Linked DNA regions of Homo sapiens: regions 2, 3, 4, 5, 6 and 7 are each linked to region 1. Evidence: promoter capture Hi-C in 16 types of primary human blood cells and fetal thymus (Javierre and others, 2016). All regions are on one chromosome and are shown on one strand. Each heading gives the region's core, a stretch centred on a gene start or on the middle of the fragment in contact. The rest is flanking DNA. Distances are from core to core; before and after follow the strand shown. Region 1 holds the start of THAP5 (THAP domain containing 5). Region 2 overlaps LOC107986837. Region 3 overlaps LOC107986837. Region 4 overlaps HRAT17 (heart tissue-associated transcript 17). Region 5 overlaps SAMTOR (S-adenosylmethionine sensor upstream of mTORC1). Region 6 holds the start of ORC5 (origin recognition complex subunit 5). Region 7 has its middle 21 kb from the start of TMEM168.

Evidence for each region. The method cuts DNA at HindIII sites, captures the fragments that hold promoters and counts their contacts. A CHiCAGO score of 5 or more calls a contact.
Region 2: a fragment that was not itself captured here is called in contact with the fragment with the promoter of THAP5 in region 1 in 4 of 17 cell types (non-activated CD4 T cells, total CD4 T cells, activated CD4 T cells and 1 more); the score reaches 11.4 in non-activated CD4 T cells.
Region 3: a fragment that was not itself captured here is called in contact with the fragment with the promoter of THAP5 in region 1 in 4 of 17 cell types (total CD4 T cells, activated CD4 T cells, non-activated CD4 T cells and 1 more); the score reaches 14.5 in total CD4 T cells.
Region 4: a contact is called between a fragment that was not itself captured here and the fragment with the promoter of THAP5 in region 1, in 2 of 17 cell types (total CD4 T cells and non-activated CD4 T cells). The highest score is 11.0, in total CD4 T cells.
Region 5: a fragment that was not itself captured here is called in contact with the fragment with the promoter of THAP5 in region 1 in 8 of 17 cell types (total CD4 T cells, non-activated CD4 T cells, activated CD4 T cells and 5 more); the score reaches 17.9 in total CD4 T cells.
Region 6: a contact is called between the fragment with the promoter of ORC5 here and the fragment with the promoter of THAP5 in region 1, in 1 of 17 cell types (total CD4 T cells). The highest score is 5.6, in total CD4 T cells.
Region 7: a contact is called between a fragment that was not itself captured here and the fragment with the promoter of THAP5 in region 1, in 1 of 17 cell types (activated CD4 T cells). The highest score is 5.0, in activated CD4 T cells.

Annotation. Positions count from the first base shown.
Region 1 is chr7:108,568,438-108,571,010 of GRCh38, reverse strand. It overlaps THAP5 (THAP domain containing 5), which reads left to right and starts at 1,305. Exons shown (of 3, transcript NM_001130475.3): 1 at 1,305-1,521. The coding sequence starts at 1,442. It overlaps DNAJB9 (DnaJ heat shock protein family (Hsp40) member B9), which reads right to left and starts at 1,137. Exons shown (of 3, transcript NM_012328.3): 1 at 908-1,137. RefSeq lists enhancers at 982-1,709, 1,243-1,722. The HindIII fragment of the contact is 6,219 bases long and covers 1-2,248 here.
Region 2 is chr7:113,128,963-113,131,535 of GRCh38, reverse strand. The region is part of intron 2 of LOC107986837; the gene reads right to left. Among named protein-coding and RNA genes, the nearest start is that of SMIM30, 12 kb to the right of the region's middle. The HindIII fragment of the contact is 415 bases long and covers 1,096-1,510 here.
Region 3 is chr7:113,105,414-113,107,986 of GRCh38, reverse strand. LOC107986837 reads right to left here. Exons shown (of 4, transcript XM_047421162.1): 2 at 188-232. Among named protein-coding and RNA genes, the nearest start is that of SMIM30, 12 kb to the left of the region's middle. The HindIII fragment of the contact is 1,672 bases long and covers 455-2,126 here.
Region 4 is chr7:112,954,088-112,956,660 of GRCh38, reverse strand. HRAT17 (heart tissue-associated transcript 17) reads left to right here. Exons shown (of 6, transcript NR_110162.1): 5 at 1-139; 6 at 1,893-2,026. Among named protein-coding and RNA genes, the nearest start is that of SAMTOR, 15 kb to the right of the region's middle. The HindIII fragment of the contact is 1,298 bases long and covers 630-1,927 here.
Region 5 is chr7:112,928,447-112,931,019 of GRCh38, reverse strand. The region is part of intron 1 of SAMTOR (S-adenosylmethionine sensor upstream of mTORC1); the gene reads left to right. Among named protein-coding and RNA genes, the nearest start is that of SAMTOR, 10 kb to the left of the region's middle. The HindIII fragment of the contact is 1,905 bases long and covers 318-2,222 here.
Region 6 is chr7:104,206,710-104,209,282 of GRCh38, reverse strand. It overlaps ORC5 (origin recognition complex subunit 5), which reads left to right and starts at 1,270. Exons shown (of 14, transcript NM_002553.4): 1 at 1,270-1,450. The coding sequence starts at 1,379. RefSeq lists enhancers at 1,092-1,251, 1,302-1,381, 1,422-1,611. The HindIII fragment of the contact is 7,936 bases long and covers 754-2,573 here.
Region 7 is chr7:112,810,600-112,813,172 of GRCh38, reverse strand. No RefSeq gene overlaps it. Among named protein-coding and RNA genes, the nearest start is that of TMEM168, 21 kb to the right of the region's middle. The HindIII fragment of the contact is 1,014 bases long and covers 797-1,810 here.

The DNA.
Region 1 (2,573 bases), core at 56-2,555:
TTTGTACTGTGGTTAAGGCAGATTCTTACTTTCACAAACTCAGTAGTTAAAATATTTCTTTTACCTTTAAACCATTAAAGAAATGTTAACTTAGAATTCTTGACAATATGTATTCAATGACTTGAGATTCAAAACGAAGGGATGGATCCTGTTTTTTGAATACGGGACCACCAGAGTCCTTAGTAACCTATAATGCCATAATAAGGCTGACGAAAAACACTACGGTTTGTGGAAATTGCCTGGCTTCCTCTCCAGCGGCCTTTCCTGAGAGTAATTAGCAGGCAGGTAGATTACTTATTTCCAGAGAGTTACTCGTAGTCACGGGTACCAAGAATCAAGAACCACTTCTCGGTTTAAGGAACACAACAGTGTGTCCCATGGACGCTGCGTCAACTGCAGGTTGCTCCCTAGTCAAAGGGCGGATCTAAAACTGACAGGGAGGCGCCTCACTGGTTCAGCAGACGTTATTCCACGGTCTCAAGGTGGACATCTAATGATTTTTTTTTAGCAGACTAGTTTTGTATTGTACAGACTTCTCATCCCCAAGACGGCCCCGCCAGCCAGCAGCCCGTGCCTTATTCCCCAGCCTCGGTGGGCGGCTGGGCTAGACCCTCCAACCTTCACCTAAAGGCGACTGGCACTTTCCCTGCCCGCCCAGGCCCCGCCGCAGAAGCTGCCCGAGACCCGGGCTCTAATCCGGCGCCCGTGAAAGCCGGCGCCACAACCCAAAACACGATTCTGTGATGCGGCTGTCTCCGTTCTTCCATTCTCTCGGCCAAAAACATGCAGCCCATTGTCCCTGCGGCGACCGTGGCGGACACCGAGGCCAAGTCAGCTCACAAAGACAGGCCTGGGCTACGGGGACCCTCCGAACTCCCCTCCCCACGACCCCGGCCTCGTCCCTCACCTGCACCCTCCGACTACTGCTGCTCCTCCACAGAGCTGAGGCGCTGGCGACCCTGACGATCGGCTCGGGTCGGCAGCTTGGGCCCGGCCCCTCACCGCGGCCTCCCGGAGCTGGCACGCACCCTAATCTCGGTCGTACACCGACCTAGCGCTCCTCCTTCCCCGCCGGCGCCCAGTCCCCTCTCAGCCAGCTCCTCACAGGCAGGAGGTAGCCGCTGGCGCCACCACCTCAGAAGACCTACACGAAACGCTTCCCCATTGGCTTCTGCCTCCCCACGTGATCCCGGCGCCCTACGCGCACGTGGAAAACTGTTGTTGCTGCTAGGGCTGTGCGCCACTTCCGGCTTCAACCCCCGAAAAGGCGGTGCTTAAACCGGAGGAGGCGGAAGTGAGTCGACAGACGAGGCGGCTTTCCCGGCAGAATGCTAGCGCAGGCGCAGGGGCTCGAGAGGCCTGGACCTGTGGCGCATCCTCAGTGAGGAGGGCCGCCCTGCATCCGTCGCCGGCCCCGGTCTCCAGGGGCCTCACCCGAGTCATGCCCCGCTATTGCGCAGCGATTTGTTGTAAGAACCGCCGGGGACGAAACAATAAAGACCGGAAGCTGAGTTTTTATCCGTAAGTTGTTTCTGGAGCAGAAGCGTCAGCCTCGCCGTGAGGCCTTGGACCTGTGGCCTTTGGGCTTGGGTGTCTCCTGTCCGCTCTGCCAGTGAGTCCTCAGCTCTCCGTACGTGGCCCGTCGCCCGCGGCAAGACGGAGGGAAGGCGCTAGTTCAGTTTAGCTAGCAATGCCCTTCTTGCGCGAGGACTGCTGGCTGGTGGCGAGGCCCAGGAGCCTGTTTGGGTGTTAACAGTTAAAACAGTAAAGTTTGCGCGGGCTTCTGTGGTTTTCAGTCTTTTCCCCACTTCACGTGATCTCATTTCATTGAACAACATTAACCACCATTTAAGATACGTGAAACCTGCGAAGTGGAAAGGTGCACGCAAAGTTAATTTACACCCCCCGCGAGGTAGGTCGCATAGGTATAATTTCATCCCACTTTTCTCCTGAGGAAACTGAGGCCCGGAATGATTAGGTAACCGACCTTGAAAGTTTAGTGTCAGAGCCAGAATTATAAACTAGTCTTCTGCTTAGGGCTGTAGATACTCTGCGGAGAACAAGGTTTTATTCTGTTACTCTGAATTACTAGAGCCACGATATATTTCCATCAAACTACTGAAGCACTGATTTTTATTCAGAAGTACAGACAAGCAGTGTCGTATAATAATTAGGGGTCCAGGCTTCAATGCTAGATCCTGGTTCCACTATTCTGTAGCTTAATGACCTCTTGGAAAGTATTTAAGCTTTGGTGTCTCACATATCTCATCTGTAACATGGAGATGTTAATAGTACTCACATGATTAATAACACATGAAAAGCAACATATTTAAAATACTGCATTTCCATTTTTTCTTGTATTTAAAAACAATTCATTTAGATCTAACCTGGTTCAGATTTTCAGCAGTTGTTTTGTGCTCATTTTACTTTAGACCTGAAGGACTTATTCATTAATGATTCGGCTGCTTTCCAGTATTTTAATTAATGGAAAAAAAATTGATAACCCCACCAGGCGCGGTGGCTCACGCCTGTAATCCCAGCACTTTGGGAGGCTGAGGCGGGCAGATCACCTG
Region 2 (2,573 bases), core at 54-2,553, 4.6 Mb before region 1:
GTTTATACTGCTCTCCAAATGCAAATCTGGTCATAGTACTCTTCTGCTGAAGACAATTCAATGGTTCCCTGTGTTCTCCAGATAAAGTCTTATATGCTCACAATATAATATTTTTCTAATCAGACCCCTGCTCACCTCTTAATCCCCTTCTCCTTACTGATTCTTATGAAAATAGCCTGTGTTTTAGCTATCATAAACTACAGACAGGCTCTCTTTCTCTGAGGCCTTTCCATCCATTGCCCCCTCTTACTAAGAAACCATCCCTGCCATATTTCTGCCATTAATATGGCTAATTCTTACTTAACTTACAGGTTTCCTCTCAGATAGTAGCTCTTCCAGGATGCCTTCTACTCTACCTGCTTTGATATGTCCATAGGAATTGATTATCATCAATTTGGTTTTCCCTTTTAGCTTCCGTAACACATCAGTAAGTATTCTTTGAAAAAATGAGAAAATCCAAATCATTTTGTTTCACGACTGGGTTGGATGTAGCACTTGTGTGAAAAGATACAACATAGTAACAACAAATTAAACCACTCAGCTTTGTATCCCAGATTCCAATGCTTGGAAACACATCTACCCAGGCCATGTTAACTCTACACGATCAAGGGTTGACAGGGGCCCTGATATCACTAAAACCAAGTCCCATAAGTATAAAAATGGGTTTATATTTTCCAGAAAGCCAAAGGCTTGAGGTTGCCAAAAGATCTCTCTAGTTTTATTAATATAAAAATTAACCTTTATTGCTGCAGGATCATCCCAGTGACATGTAGTCTGAAAGGTAATCAACTGCTTCCTTCTCACAGTGTCTAGTAGCCACCTAGCTAAAAGAGGGCAGAGCATCACACAGCTCTAACACGCTTCCTGTTCTCTAAATCTAAACAAGCATGATAACCAGAAGCAAATTCAATCAAAAGAAGTATTACTACTTTCTCAAATGACTAATACAAAACCAGCTATTTAACAACAACAAAAAAAAATACTTTAGAACCCATTTAAGGTTTGGAGTTACCTTAAATGGGTTCCCAAAGTATTTTTTTTTTGTTGTTAAATAGCTATTTTTTAATGAACCGGAGACTTCACAATATTAAAGCTTAATCTGGTATAAGCCAGTTGGCATCAAGATAAACTATACCTGTCCAATTTAGAAGAATCATTTAAATAAAACATCTAAGGTTCAACTCTCAAACACAGTATCTAAGCTATGGTTTTGAGTGTGACATGTGGGAAAAGAGGTAAAGTATGACTATTCTCTGCTTGCTTTGATGGTACAGAGGTAACAAGTATGGTAAGCACAGTTTTAATTAACCTTTCCAGAAGAAGCCATAATCCACATGGATTTTTATTAATCCTCCCTGCCAACCTGCTATTCTATGCCATATATAGTAGACTGCAGAAAGCTGAGCTACGTTACCAAGCGTGGTTGGAACTATGATGATCCACCCAGGTTCCCTCTTCAGGGTTAAAGCCTACTGCCCTCAGCTTTGAGGAATACCATCTGGTAAAAGCTTACAGATGTAACCCTGACAGAGAAATGCTCTTGGCTACAAGCAACTACCTCACTAAATACTTCTCAGGGGAGAGCCACAGTCAATGCCCAACACACGCCAAGGAATAAAGTCCCCTTTGCTTCAATTTGGAACAATTCTTAGAGACATCTCCTTTCCAGAGCTCCCTGTAAGCTCTCCCAAGACCTCAGTTGCATTGTGAGTCAGCTTTCCCCTCTACCCTATCTTCCTTTTCTCATCTCCTCACAGGTGCAGTTCTGGAGAGCACATCTCAAAAAATCTTTACATATAACTCTTCATCTCAGAATTCTACTTTCAGCCAGCCTAATGTAAAACCCACCTCTATAATTATGTAAGGCAAACACGGTGGCATATAGTAGTTTTGCTGACTTTATCAGTAGCTGGTCCTAATATCAGTCTTGGTCTTCCATTAGAAATCTGAACCTATTCACTGAGACAGAGACAAGATCTGGAATTTAATCTATGCTAAATGGCTCCAATTCCATTTAAATGCAACAAAATTTAGAAGCCAAATCATTGGTATTAAAATTTATCTAATTTTATCATTACCCAATTATAAGAGGGGTAAGAGTCCAGAAGAAATTCTCATTGAAAGAGCACAAAAAGAAAAGGATAATAAGAATGATTTATCCATAATAGATTACCATGTTTTCATAGATAATGGGAAATGTATTTTGTTCAACTTATAAAAACCCAGTTGGGCCTTTTCTAACCAAAATAAAAAGAATGGTTACAATAACATCTATTTTTCATGTTCTCAATTAATCTTTTAAAATCTGCTTTGAATGTTAATGAAAAGTTGCCAAGGAATCAACCGATTCTTTTATTTCATCCACTTCTCGATCCACAGGGTCTAAAAGGATTCTAGGTTTGGAGGCTTTGTCTTCTTGATTTTGAGTATTGTTGTTGTTTTAGTAGCACTACTTTGAAGAGTAGAAATTAAATAAGTTGGTCCACCTGACTGTGGTCTCATTTTTCTAAGCCGATGAAAACCTAAGCTTCTTTTCTAGAACATTTGGACACAAAACAAACTAAATAGAAAGG
Region 3 (2,573 bases), core at 41-2,540, 4.5 Mb before region 1:
TAACTTATAAACCAAATTAAATGGTTATTACACTATCTAATGTATTGCTTTTTAACTAAAAAAATCATAACATTAGATAATTAGTATATATGGTAATGATATATAGATGACATTAGATAATGATATGGTATATATGGTAATGATATATAGATAACATTAGATAATATCAGAATGACCCATACCTTACCTGTCCTCAGCAAAACTGTTTTCACTCTTCCAAGCCATCTTCCACCTGCATAAATTTAATGAAACTGGATTGGAACATGCATACCATTTTGTCTTCTAGTTTTGTTTGTCTGTTTAACATGTAAGTGTTTCACGGATATTTTAACAATCAAGTAATATTCTACCCCTTATATTTACCATTACTTATTCCAAAACAATACCTTTAATAATGCTGGACATGCCAATGGTATTTAACATCTTGTCATTATTGATAACACTATAATAAGCTTATTATAATACTATAATAAGCAAAATAGATAATTTCTACCAAGTACCAAAAATATATTCATATCCTTTGAACCTGTGGTTTCAGCCTAGAAATTGACTTCTGTATATTAATTCTTACATTATAATTCATCCGTTGCAAATATATACATAAAAATATATCTAATGTGTCTATTGTCCTGATCTTCTAAAGAAGCAAGTTTTCCAACATGGAGGATAACTGAGGTGACTATATACTACTGTACCAGAAATGCTAGAGGTCTGGGTTTATAAAAGACACTCTGAATTCTAGGTGTGGAAAGAAAAGTTTCTAACCCAGGAGAGAAAGTAACAAATCTCCTGTTAGAGAAAAAGTTCAGAGTCACTGTGCACTTTTATAATAAGCAGTTCATAAGAGGGATCAAAAAAAGACTCAGCATATTAAGTGAAAGAAGTATTATATGGTCTTCAATATTCATTTTCAAGATTATTCTTATTGTTTTCATAATTAAAATTAAAACATTATTTGTCCAGTGATCTCTACATTTTTTATTAGTGGTCCATACTAATGATAGCTATCAAGAAATATTATTAATTAAACATTATTACAATAATAAGTACCAAACCACACAAAGAAGTGTTTCTTTCCTCGGTGGTGTTGCAAAGTGACAGAAGTTTATGGCTATGAAAGTCTGTGACATAATTAAAAGAGCACTAAACAAGGAGTCAAAACCATATGAATCCTAGTTCTGGCTATGCTGCAAACAGGCTGTAGGGCACCAGCAGAATCACTCGCAAGTTATTTGGGGACTCATTTTCTTAAAGAAAAATATAAATAAGTAGAAATTGTGTACCCCAAACACATTCACTGCTGAGCACTTAAAACTAGAATTCCCCTTTGAAGGAAGATGAGCAAGGTGAAGGAAGGCTTAGGCAAACAGAATACCCAGAAGTGGGGCCAGCCTTGAAAAGCTACAGAAACAGTTTCCTGATAGATGACATGACTTAAGGAAAGCCATCAGGAAACATCCTAAACACAAATGCCTAAGTTCTATACACTCTCCAGTACTTTTGTGATACCTGATTAATGGTGCCTCTTCTGGGTCTTGCAGGCCTAGAGGTCTTCTGGCTCTTGATACTGAATGCTAATATGACTTTGGGGTCTACACATTAAACTAAAAATAAAAACCTCCAAATGGAACTCCAAAGTGGGATTAAACACCTGATATTGGGTTTAGAGAGAAGAATGAAGGATAAAATTACCAGAAGTGGGGAGAAGGGATGTGGATGGACAATGCACCAAAAATACATAGAAAATTATACCATGTGAGCAAAAGTTGGTCCTACCTAAAAGAAGTTTAAAGTTTTGCTTTATAGTTCATTAAATTAAACATGCCAGCCTAATAGCAATATTCTTAAAAATAGAAAACTTGTCCTTCCTGCTTTGCATTATTCTTGAACACCCAAGATAAAGCATTTAATACAATACACATTCAATAAACATTTGTAGTCTGACTTAAGAACTCTGTCCACAGAAAAAGCCCAAATGGTTTAGATGACAAAACAAAAGATATCATAGGAAAAAATATAATCTATTTCGGCAGCCTGACAAAAATTAAGTAGAATTAAAATAAAATTCAGATTAGAAGCATTACCATAAAAATATAAAATGAAAGCAAGGAAAGAGCACTCAAGCTTTTGTACAAAGATGGACATCTCCAGTTTGTTTATATTTTTGTTTTTTCCAGATAATGCTGGCATAAAGTGGTTGCTATAGCAGTTGTTTTATTTGTATAAATTTAAGGCGCACAAGTGCAGTTTTGTTAAATTGATACTTTGTATGGTGGTGAACCCCAGGCTTTTAGTGTTACCAATACCTGAATGATGTAAATTGTACCCAACAGATAATTTCTCATCCCTCAACTCCCTCTCATCCTCCCAACTTCTGGAGTCTCCAGTGGCTTTGATTCCGCTCTGTATGTTCATGTGTAGCTCCCACTTATAAGTGAGAACATGAGGTATTTGGCTTTCTGTTTCTGAGTCATTTCACTTAAGATAATGGCCTCCAGTTCCACCCATGCTGTTACAAAAGACATTTCTTTCTTTCCTATGGCTGAGTAGAATTCCATTATACACACACACAC
Region 4 (2,573 bases), core at 29-2,528, 4.4 Mb before region 1:
AATCAACTATGGCTGAAGAGTGAGGAGACATTTGGAATAAATATGGCTTCTGGGGGCCCATTCCTATGGATCAGCAGCTGGCTTCTGGAGGCCCATTCCTGTGAATCGTCGATCTCATAGAAGATAATATTGTTAGAAGGTAGGTAGGCAGTTCTCAAACTGTGAAGCTATTGGAAGGTGTTTTTGTTTTTGTTTTTGTTTTAAGCATGGCATGGAAGGAACATGCTCAAATCCATCATTTAAAAAAGAGAACTCCAGCAGCAATATGAATAATAGATTGGAAGGGAGATTAACCAGATTCAAAGAGGTAAGCCCAATGAGAAAACCATTAAGAAAAGTTACAAGCAAAAAATAAGAGACTATTTTTTGTATTGGGAGAGTAATAGTAGCAATGGAAAGGCATGGGCAGATACTGAACACATTTCAGAGGTTGAATGGACCATATTTGAATATAAGTAGTGAGGAAAGGTGTAAAGGAAATGAATACTTCAAGATTCCTAGCTTGGGCAATAGGATAGATAGGATTGCTGAGAATTGAGACAAGGAAAACAAGAAAAGAAAATACGAGATTGGAGAGGGCAATCTTGAGCCTGAAAAGTTACAGTACATTCAATGTCAGATCCAAAGCTTCAGAATGTTGAGTAATCAGTATTTGAGAGATACATAGGTAATAGTTGGTGCTTCAGGATCACATAAGATCATTCAGAAAATTCATGTAGAGTGAGAAAAGAGAGTAGTTTGCTCAGAAAATTCCAGCAGAAGAGATGGTACTAAAAGAAAGATAAAGAGCAAACAGAGACACATGGGAAGAATAAGAGCTGCATCTTAGAAGCCAAGAAGGAGTTTTAAGAAGAAGGAAATGATAAACAATCAAATTCTGCAGAAAAGAAAAGTAGGATGAGAGCTGAAAGAGGCTAACATATTTGACAATCACATCATTGCTGACCTTTCTCGAAGCAATTTCCGCAGAGTTGCGGGGGTGAAAACCAGGTTGCAGTGGGCTGAAATTAGACCGAGAGACAAGGAAGTGGAAGCAATGCCTATGACCTACTCTTTCCAAAACGGTGTCAACTGAAGTATATACTGCTAGATAATGGTTTATTCTGTTAAAATTTATTTTATCACTATATTGTTTGGACTAAAACTAGATCATTAAAAAGCTCGAATTGAACCATGGACTCCTGACTTCCACATTTCTAGAAGTCATCTTGCCTGCAGGCAAATTAATTCTATAGCCTTCTGTAGACATAGCTCCAATAATATATCTCATCCTTATTTTCAGTGGTATTCATGGTATTTATTTTCAGTGGTATTCATGGTATTGTCTCCCACCATCTTTCCCTTTTACTCCATCTCAGCTCTCAGACACATGACATTTTTGCCAATCTCATTACAACTTGTGCTCATTTTCTCAAGTTTCCTATCAACTGGGGTAATTGCTTCCTACAAAACCCACTCTCCTATTAACTGGCTCATTACCTTGAGTTAAAAGTTCAGAAACTTCTTCAAAGTGAAATCACTGTAGAGTCCTGAAAAGAAACTACTTTTGAAGTTACTGACACATGTGTATGCCAAGACAATTCTTGGGTTGTATTCAATGATTTACAGACCCAACCCATTCCTTGTTAAGTTTCTATCAGCATCAATTTTCCTCCTTCACTATAATGGTACATTTATTACTCTCCAAGTCATAATAGTAGACATATAGAGTAGAAGAAGACAAAATCAGTTAATGTGTTGATCACAGCGCTATGTTGATAGAGCTAATGTGGTTCAGAAAAGAAATACTATTAAAGTTCCTCTAGTTCTCTCTCCAGCTGAAGACAATTAGCTTAATAACCATTTCTACTCATTATTTCCATGCTAACTAGTTTTATCTTTGCATTTTTTAGGCTTACCTCATTGATGCTGAACATCCTAAAAAGCTTCTGCTGCTTTGAGTCACTGAAAAAGACCAAGAAACATGAATTTAAAAAAAAATTTCAAATGTTATAAAATAAATAATATGAACTCATTATACCTACAATGAATAATTTAAATTCTTCTTTGGTAGTCCAGGTAAATAACTTCTCAAATAGATTTTTTTAAGCATCTGTATAAGTTCAAGATGTACATCACTTCATGTAGAATAACATCTCCTAAAAAGAACTGAAATGCCTCAGTATACAACCAGCTGACCTGGCTATCAAACACTTATTTAGCACATATTACATGATGGACACTTTGATGTAGATACGGACCTTGGGTTGTGTCCTCAAGGATCATACAGTGGGTTGAGGAAATAGGATATGCTATCCATAGGAAAGTAAATAATAATATGACAGCTTATTTTCAATGAGAAGTGAATAGTACAAAGAATAGGAGTTGCCAGATTTCAAAAGGAAAGAGCTATCACACAGAGGCGGAACAATTAGAAATTTTTCATGAAGGAAGTGTTCTTTGTGCTGGACCTTTGAGAAAGTATAGAATGTAGATTAGCAAAAAGGCATGGAAAAGGCATGATAGGTAGGAGAGGCAAGTTAGGCAAAGGTCCATTAGAATTGCTCAAGATATAATAGACCAACTTGGCCTGA
Region 5 (2,573 bases), core at 21-2,520, 4.4 Mb before region 1:
ACTGACAAAAGACCATTTGTTTGTGGTTAGTAGAGTCTGTGTACTTTCCTCTGTTGCAAAGCTTTGCTCATATCCATGAAAGTTCATGAATTAAAAACTTATGAAGAGAAGCAAAGTTTGTGGTTAGGAGCATGACTTTAGCTTTTGACTACCAGGTTTGTTGTGTAACCTTGGAAAAGTTTACTTAATCGCTCTACTTCAGTTTCCTCATCTATAAAGTAAAATATCTGCCTCAATGGATTGGTATTATAATTAAATGAGTTAATATTTGAAAAGCACTTAAAACAACATTTGGCATATAGGAAACACACTAAGCTTGTAAAATACAGAAATTTAAAAATAACAGCTCTTTTATCTGTAGCTATACTGCTTCAATGCATTTAAGGACTATGACATTAAAGACTGGATGGCTCCTGGAATTTTTACCTAGACTGTTCTGTAGTCTTCTCAGTATTAAAATGACTTTTTCTTTTTCTTCTTTTTTTTTTTTTTGCCCCTTTTGCTGTTTGTGTTTCTAAGTTTTTATATGAAAAGTCCAACCTTTTTAGCATGTCAGAATATTGGTGGTGTTTTCTTCCCACATTAGAGAAATGACTATTCATAACATGTTGGCTATAAGATGCAGGTTTTCAAACTTTTTGTTTTCTGGTTACTTTTTGGCTCTTAATTACCAAACACCTTGGATGTTTTTTATCCCACTTTTAGATGTGTCACTGTATCAGGTGCTCAAGAGCTGAGAAGACTGGTCGTTGTATGGCTTAACTATGTAAGACAATCTGAATTCTGAACATTTTGTTTTAATGCCTTGAAATGGTAGCTGAACTTGTTTGCACTTAGTCATGAGTTTCTTTACTTACCTTGTGTTAGAGAAAATGACCATTAAAGGTACTTTGAACTTGAATTTGGTAGTCTTGTCATCTACAGATAAGGCATCTTAGGGCCCGTATTTGGCAATATGCCTAAGTCAGAATCAAATAAATTGTTCTGAATTTCTAAAAGTTTAAGACTTTTGATACTCATGTATTTTTTTGCTTTTTTAGAGAATTTGATGGCCCTCAAATTTAATGAAATATAATCTTAATTTTGTAACATATACCATGCTTGTGGCACATCATTTTTAAAAATTAAATTTATTGAGATATGATTCATGTACAGTAAATTGTGTCTTTTTAAAGTATATAATTCCGTAAGTTTTGACAATGCATGCATCTCTGTAAAACCATTACCACAATAAGGCGTAGAACATTTTCATCACTGCCAAAATTTTCTCATACTTCTTTGCAGTCGGTCTCTCTCTATACTCTCAGTCTCACATGTCTTTTCACTATAGATTCACCTCCATTTATTTTCGTTTCTTAGCTATTGTGAGTAATGCTGCAATGATTATAGGATTGCAGATATCTCTTTGACATACTGATTTCATTTCCTTTGGATAAATACCCATAGTGGGATTGCTGAATCATGTAGTAGTTTTATTTTTAATTTTTTTAGGAACCTCCATACTGTTTTGGCTGTACTAATTTACATACCCAACATAAGTATACAGGATTCACTTTTCTTCACATCCTCACCAATGCTTGTTATCTCTGGTCTTTTTGATAATAGCCATCCTAACAGATGGGAGGTAGTATCTTATTGTGGTTTTAATTTGCATTTTCCTGATGATTAGTTTTGTTGAGCACCCTTCTATATACCCATTGGCCATTTTTTGTGTTGTCTTTGGAAAAATATCTATTCAGGTCATTGCCCATTTTTTAGTCAGATTATTTGTTTTTTTGCTATTCAGTTTGAGGTTTTTTTTATATATCTTTTGGATATTAACCCCTTATCAGGTATATGGTTTGTAAATATATTTTTATCTTAAAATGGCATCACATATATACTTGCTAACTTATTTTCTGTGCTTTGTATGTTTTAAAAAGGAGAATTAGGATAGAGTTATTGAGAAAAAATATTATTTTTATACACATCAAGTATATAAAAATCAAGTGGTCCTGGCATGTAAAAATGCATGAACCTTAGCACCACCTATTCATTTTTTTCACATATAAGTAATTCTTTATCTATTTGGTGGTGTTACTGTTCATTTCTCCTTGAGCTAATAAATTTTTCGAAAAGATCTGTGTACTGCTATTAAAGAACTTAATGGATATGACTGGACTGTCAGCTGCAAGGTTTTCTTTTGACAATAACACAAAATGAAAAAGCCTTTTTAATAAGCTTAAAACAATGGTCTCTAGAAAAATGACATTGAAATTATTGCTTTTCTGACCTTGGAACTCTTACTTTGAAAACAGTAACTATTGTGAAAAATTTAAATTCTGCTTTTGAGTGACTGCTATTTATTGAAAGCCATCCTCTGTAGTTTGAATTTTATCTTAGCAACTAATTTAATTTGTTTATACTTTTCATGTTTATTTTTTGAGCATGATGAAAATTTAAATATTTTGTCCTCCACTGACTGAGCACCCTAATTAACTTCTCTAATTTATACAAATTGTAAATCAAAAGTAGTCTTTGCTTTTCCATTTATACTTTCTATTGGGAAAATCACACCTGGTTTTAATAGACAG
Region 6 (2,573 bases), core at 21-2,520, 4.4 Mb after region 1:
CCTCATAAAGTATATAGAGAGGGAGACTAACATTTTAGACAGTTTAGTCAGTTTTATTGAATGCTATAAAGATGTCGTGTTATGATTATAATATATGTATACCTTATATGCACAGTATGTTACGGACGTATAACCATCTTAGGAGAGTATCAGAGGCCAGCTTCCCTTGGAGACATTGAAATTTAATGGGTGGTCCCATTATAACCTTTAGAATTCTCTATTAAAAAGTACCTGGGCAAATGCTTTTGAATTGTTGCTGTGAAAATACTATTTTGACTAGCTAATACGTTATATACCACAACTCTCAAAAGATCCTTTTGACCATCACAAATCTAAGACTGATCTACAATCTATGGGCAGATTGAAGTCCACAATTTAAATTTATGTATAACAGGTAGTATGTACAGGATCTTCTACTCCTAGCAATAACCTAGCCAGTATTATCCCTATTTTATAGATAAGGAAGTTGAGGCTCAACTATTCCAAAGTCCCCCTATTCAGCAGTTGAGTCAGTCAGTGGTCCCAACCCAGGGGTTTCAGGACGCCAAGCTCTCTTTCCACCATGCACTTGCCTACTTCTGTATCTTATTTCCAGAATCTTCTAGTGTTTAGTCGCTAGTAGGTGCCTCACAAATAAATACACGTGAAAGCCTAATGCTAAAAGTAGCATTATTTTTACTATCAACCTCACCAACACACACTACGACTTCATCCCATTAGGACTGAGAGGCTTTCCACATCTGGTTTAAAGCTTGCACAAAAAATAGTAATTCCAAGCTGTGCATTAAACCCCATTACACCCTGTTTTGTACTCAATGCCACTAATTTCCCACAACGTCGTCAGGGAAAAAAACGACAACAAAAACATCTTTTGACAATATTAGTCTTCTAAGTCCGCCTTCCACGTCCCTCTAAGGGCCCCAGCTCCGGGTCCGTCTTCTTAGGCACTCAAGGTTTCTAAACTTGGGGCTTCCAGCCGGTAAAACTAAAGGCACGGGGTTCAGGGGTCATTGGAGGCCCACGGGACCCCCTTAACCCCTTCCACCCCTTCCCTATTCGCCCATCTCCATGTCGTCTCCTTAGCCTTTGAGTGGAAAAAGCGTCAGCCCGAAATCCCCACCAAGCCCAAGAATGGGCAAAACCTCGGCGCGCACAGGACCAGCGAGAAGAGGATGGTTCCGGCCCTGAGACTAGAGCGGCGGCGACGCTCGGCGTACGCGCTGCCGTCACGCCGCAGCCCGGCAGCGCAGGCTCCTCCCACGACGCTGCGGGTCCGGTTTCCGGCGGGAGCGTGGGCCGCCAGACTCGGGAGAGGCTCCGTCTTGTGCAAGGGTCCTGTGGGCTGGCTGCACTGGCCTCTGCGGTGGTGCCTGCCAGAATGCCCCACTTGGAAAACGTGGTGCTTTGTCGCGAGTCTCAAGTGTCCATCTTGCAGTCCTTGTTTGGAGAGGTATTGTAGTTAAACTGTCTTCCAGATCCTGGAGGCAGACGTTTCGGTAGTCTTGCGACCTGTTCCAATATTTGTTTTTTCGTGTTTGGATTGAGGGCCAAAAGGCCGTTTTTACGTTAAATAGGGGTGTTGTGGTTCTGTACTGCAGCTTCACCCACAGTCTCTTCCGAATATTGAAGAGGAGACAGTCTGAGAGCGACCGGCCTGCACTATAGGACGTTGCCTAAGACGTATTTGAAACACGCCACACTTTTCAGAAGTTTGCCCACATTAGCTCCTAGAAGTTGCTTGTTATCTTACCCCAACCCAATGACATTTATGTAACAGATGTGTTTGCAGGGTGTTATTTATTCAAATGTAAGTTCACACGTTTCTGTGCGGTAGTTGGAGTGAGTCAAGTGTAGAGAGGTGGTTGCTTTCAAGGCCACTAAGGGCCAAAGCAGTGCTTCAGGTTTAAAAATTTACTGGCTTTTCCAGAATTGTAACAGTCCAGAAGAGGTCTAGGGTAAACTTTTCTCCTTAACTGATAGTTCACAGGATGCCCTAGAGAGGAGTTTGTCTTGTCTGGATGAACATAGATACGTAGGGAGTCCTTTCAATAGGCAGAGGGTAGCGTTCACCAATTCAAAATTTAACCTATTTTTGACTATTTTCTGGTGGTCTTTGATGTGCTTTTTGATTCAGACTCAATCAGAATTGGAATTAATCAAACTTGGATCTTACCTGCGAAGAGAGTGAATGAGAATTCAGGGTCATACTCATACCCCCATCTTCTGGTTTGCTTTTTTAAGTACAGTCATGCGTTGCTGCCACTTAGTGAGGGGGATACGTCCTGAGAAATGCATCGTTAGGCAATTTAATCCCTGTGAATATCAGAAAGTGTATTTACACAAACCTAGATGGTGTAGCCTGCTATACACCTAGGCTGTATGGTGTAGCCTGTTCCTCCTAGGCTATAAACCTCTACAGCGGTGCTACTATACTGAATACTGTAGGCAGTTGTAACACAGTGATAAGTCTGCATCTAAAAGTGTCTAAACATAGAAAAGGTACAGTGAAAATAGGGTATTATAATCTTATGAGATCACTGTTGTATATGTGGTCCATCTTTGAATGTACACGT
Region 7 (2,573 bases), core at 54-2,553, 4.2 Mb before region 1:
CTTAAATACACTAGCATTAATACAAGGCAAAAAATAAAAACAAACATTACAGAAAACATTCTTGCACTGCAGCATCTGGTGGTACATATAAATGAAACCTGTTCACTTGACTTTTATGACACACTGTTCTTAACCCATCTAGAGGCAATTTACTTTAATATGGATACCCCTTATCATAAAGGGGCCAAATGTAAATGATGCAGCCCCTCCGTACCTCTCCAATGCAACTTCCCACCATTCTCTCCTTCACCTTCTGTGTTAGAGTCCTAGGGGGAAACACACACACCCACACACATCATGTGACCACCTTTGCACTAGCTACTCCCTCTGCCTAGAATTTCTTCCTCCTACATTTTATTTCCATGGCTAGTTTGTTTTTGTTATTCAAATCTCTGCTTAAATGCCACATCCTCTGGGACACCTTCCTATTACACATAATCGAAAATTGTCTCTTCACAATACCATAAAGTCTCTGCATAGCTCTAATTATCTGAAGTTTATCTTTGTCCATGTTCATCTGTATATATGGGCAAAGCCCTTTTCTGTCCTGTGTCTTCAGCCTAAATAAGTACCTTGCATAAAGAAGGTGATGGAATACATATTTCCAAATGGTTAATTTTACCTTCCAAAATGCAACTGTGATGATACAGGGCCACTGCTGCTGCTTAGTTTATGAATCTTTTGGGGTAGTCTAGTCCTGTTTATATTAATTAGTTTATTAATATGTTCTCATAATTAAGATATAACTCAATTTATACTTCAGGAAAGTCTAAATTGGTTTGTATAAACTGAAGCTTAGATCAATACTAAGTAACCTGGAGCCATATAATTTCTCTTCTGTGTATTCCCACACATTCATTAAAATGAATTATATCTAAACCTGAAATCCTACTTTCTTACCACGTCCGTCAGTACTCTCTCTCCAATGGCCAGCTCCCACTCCTTGCTAGTGTAAGAATTTAAGTTTGTAAACCATCATTAGCTTTTACATCTTTAAAAGGAGTATTTACCTAAATGATCTCTTCAACCCCAGGAGAGAAGTGGTACTCCAGCAGTTTCTTTATTCGTATAAGGGATACGTGATTTGTACTACTTTCCACTGGCTTTTGTATCCAGAAAGATTTGCATCACCAACCCTATGAAAACTTACTGGGGCAAAGTTCTCCTCAGGGCCTGTTTATCCAAAAAATTCACTTTGCAAGGTTATCGATAGGTTTGAAAATGATGTCTATAAAGCAGATAACAATCTTGTCACATAGTAGGGATATGACATATAGTGACTATTATTTATTTTGGCAAAGTGTCTTTTATAGCCCCATTCCTTCTCTTCATTCAGTCTTGCCTGGTCTGCACACATTCACTGTTTCATCTCCACCATCACCACCCAATTCAAAATCTGATATCAACTCCTTAGAACCATATTGAGCAAGAAAATCAGTGTTAAATTTTCTTATCTTCAATTTTTCTTCCCTATGAATTCCCAGAAAATGATGTAAGATACACACTTCACTACAACCTACCCTACAAGATTTCAATGGAAACTACAAAACAAGTCACAACACAAGATTGTCTTGTCTTTTTATCTATGAATTCACAAAGACAGGGGACCACTTATTCATTGTGCTTGAGTCAACTATTAAGCCTGAGAGGGTTCCATAAATATCAAGGATGGCTGTGTTAGGCCACTCTTGCATTGCTATACTCAAGACTGGGTAATTTATAAGAAAAGAGGTTTAATTGGCTCATGCTTCTGCAGGCTGTACAGGAAGCATAGTGCTGGCATCTGCTTCTGGAGAGGCCTCAGGAAGCTTTTACTTGTGGCAGAAGGCAAAGCAGGAGCAGGCACTTCACATGCTGAAGGCAGGAGCAAGGGAGAGTAGGGGAGGTGCCATGCACTTTGAACAACCAGATCTCGTGAAAATGAACTCGCTACCCAGAGGAAGGCACCAAGCCATGAGGAATCCACTCCCATAACCCAAACACCTCCCACAAGGCCCCACCTCTAACACTGAGGATTACATTTCAACATGAGATTTGAGTGAGGACAATTATCCAAACTATATCAATGGCCGTTAATGTGAGGAGGATCACCAGCTTTAAGAGGAGGACGGGATTAGCAACATCACAGCATTAAATAGGAAGAAAACCCTTGAAACATTTTAATTCAGTTTCTAAAGCACTGACTTCATGAGCTGTATAAAAGCACACCAGATGTTGCTTCTATCATATTCCAAAGTACCCAGATGTAACCTCATCCACGGATAATACTTGTTGGAGGCACCAACTAAAGTTATTGACCGCATTACTGTATACTCAAGAACAGATTGGAAACTTAGTATCCCCTTTTGACATGACAACAGCCTAAAAAATTACAACAGGAGCAACAGAAAAAGTAACATTTTTATAAAATACCATTTGATTCTAAATAACATTTTTTATCTTCATAACTTACTAACATAAAGCGACGATTGCCTATCCAGTATTGTGCTAAGCACTCTACAAACATTTCCTCACTATAAAATAAGTGAGGATTTTACTTACCATTTTACTAGTGAGGAAAGTGAATCTTTGAG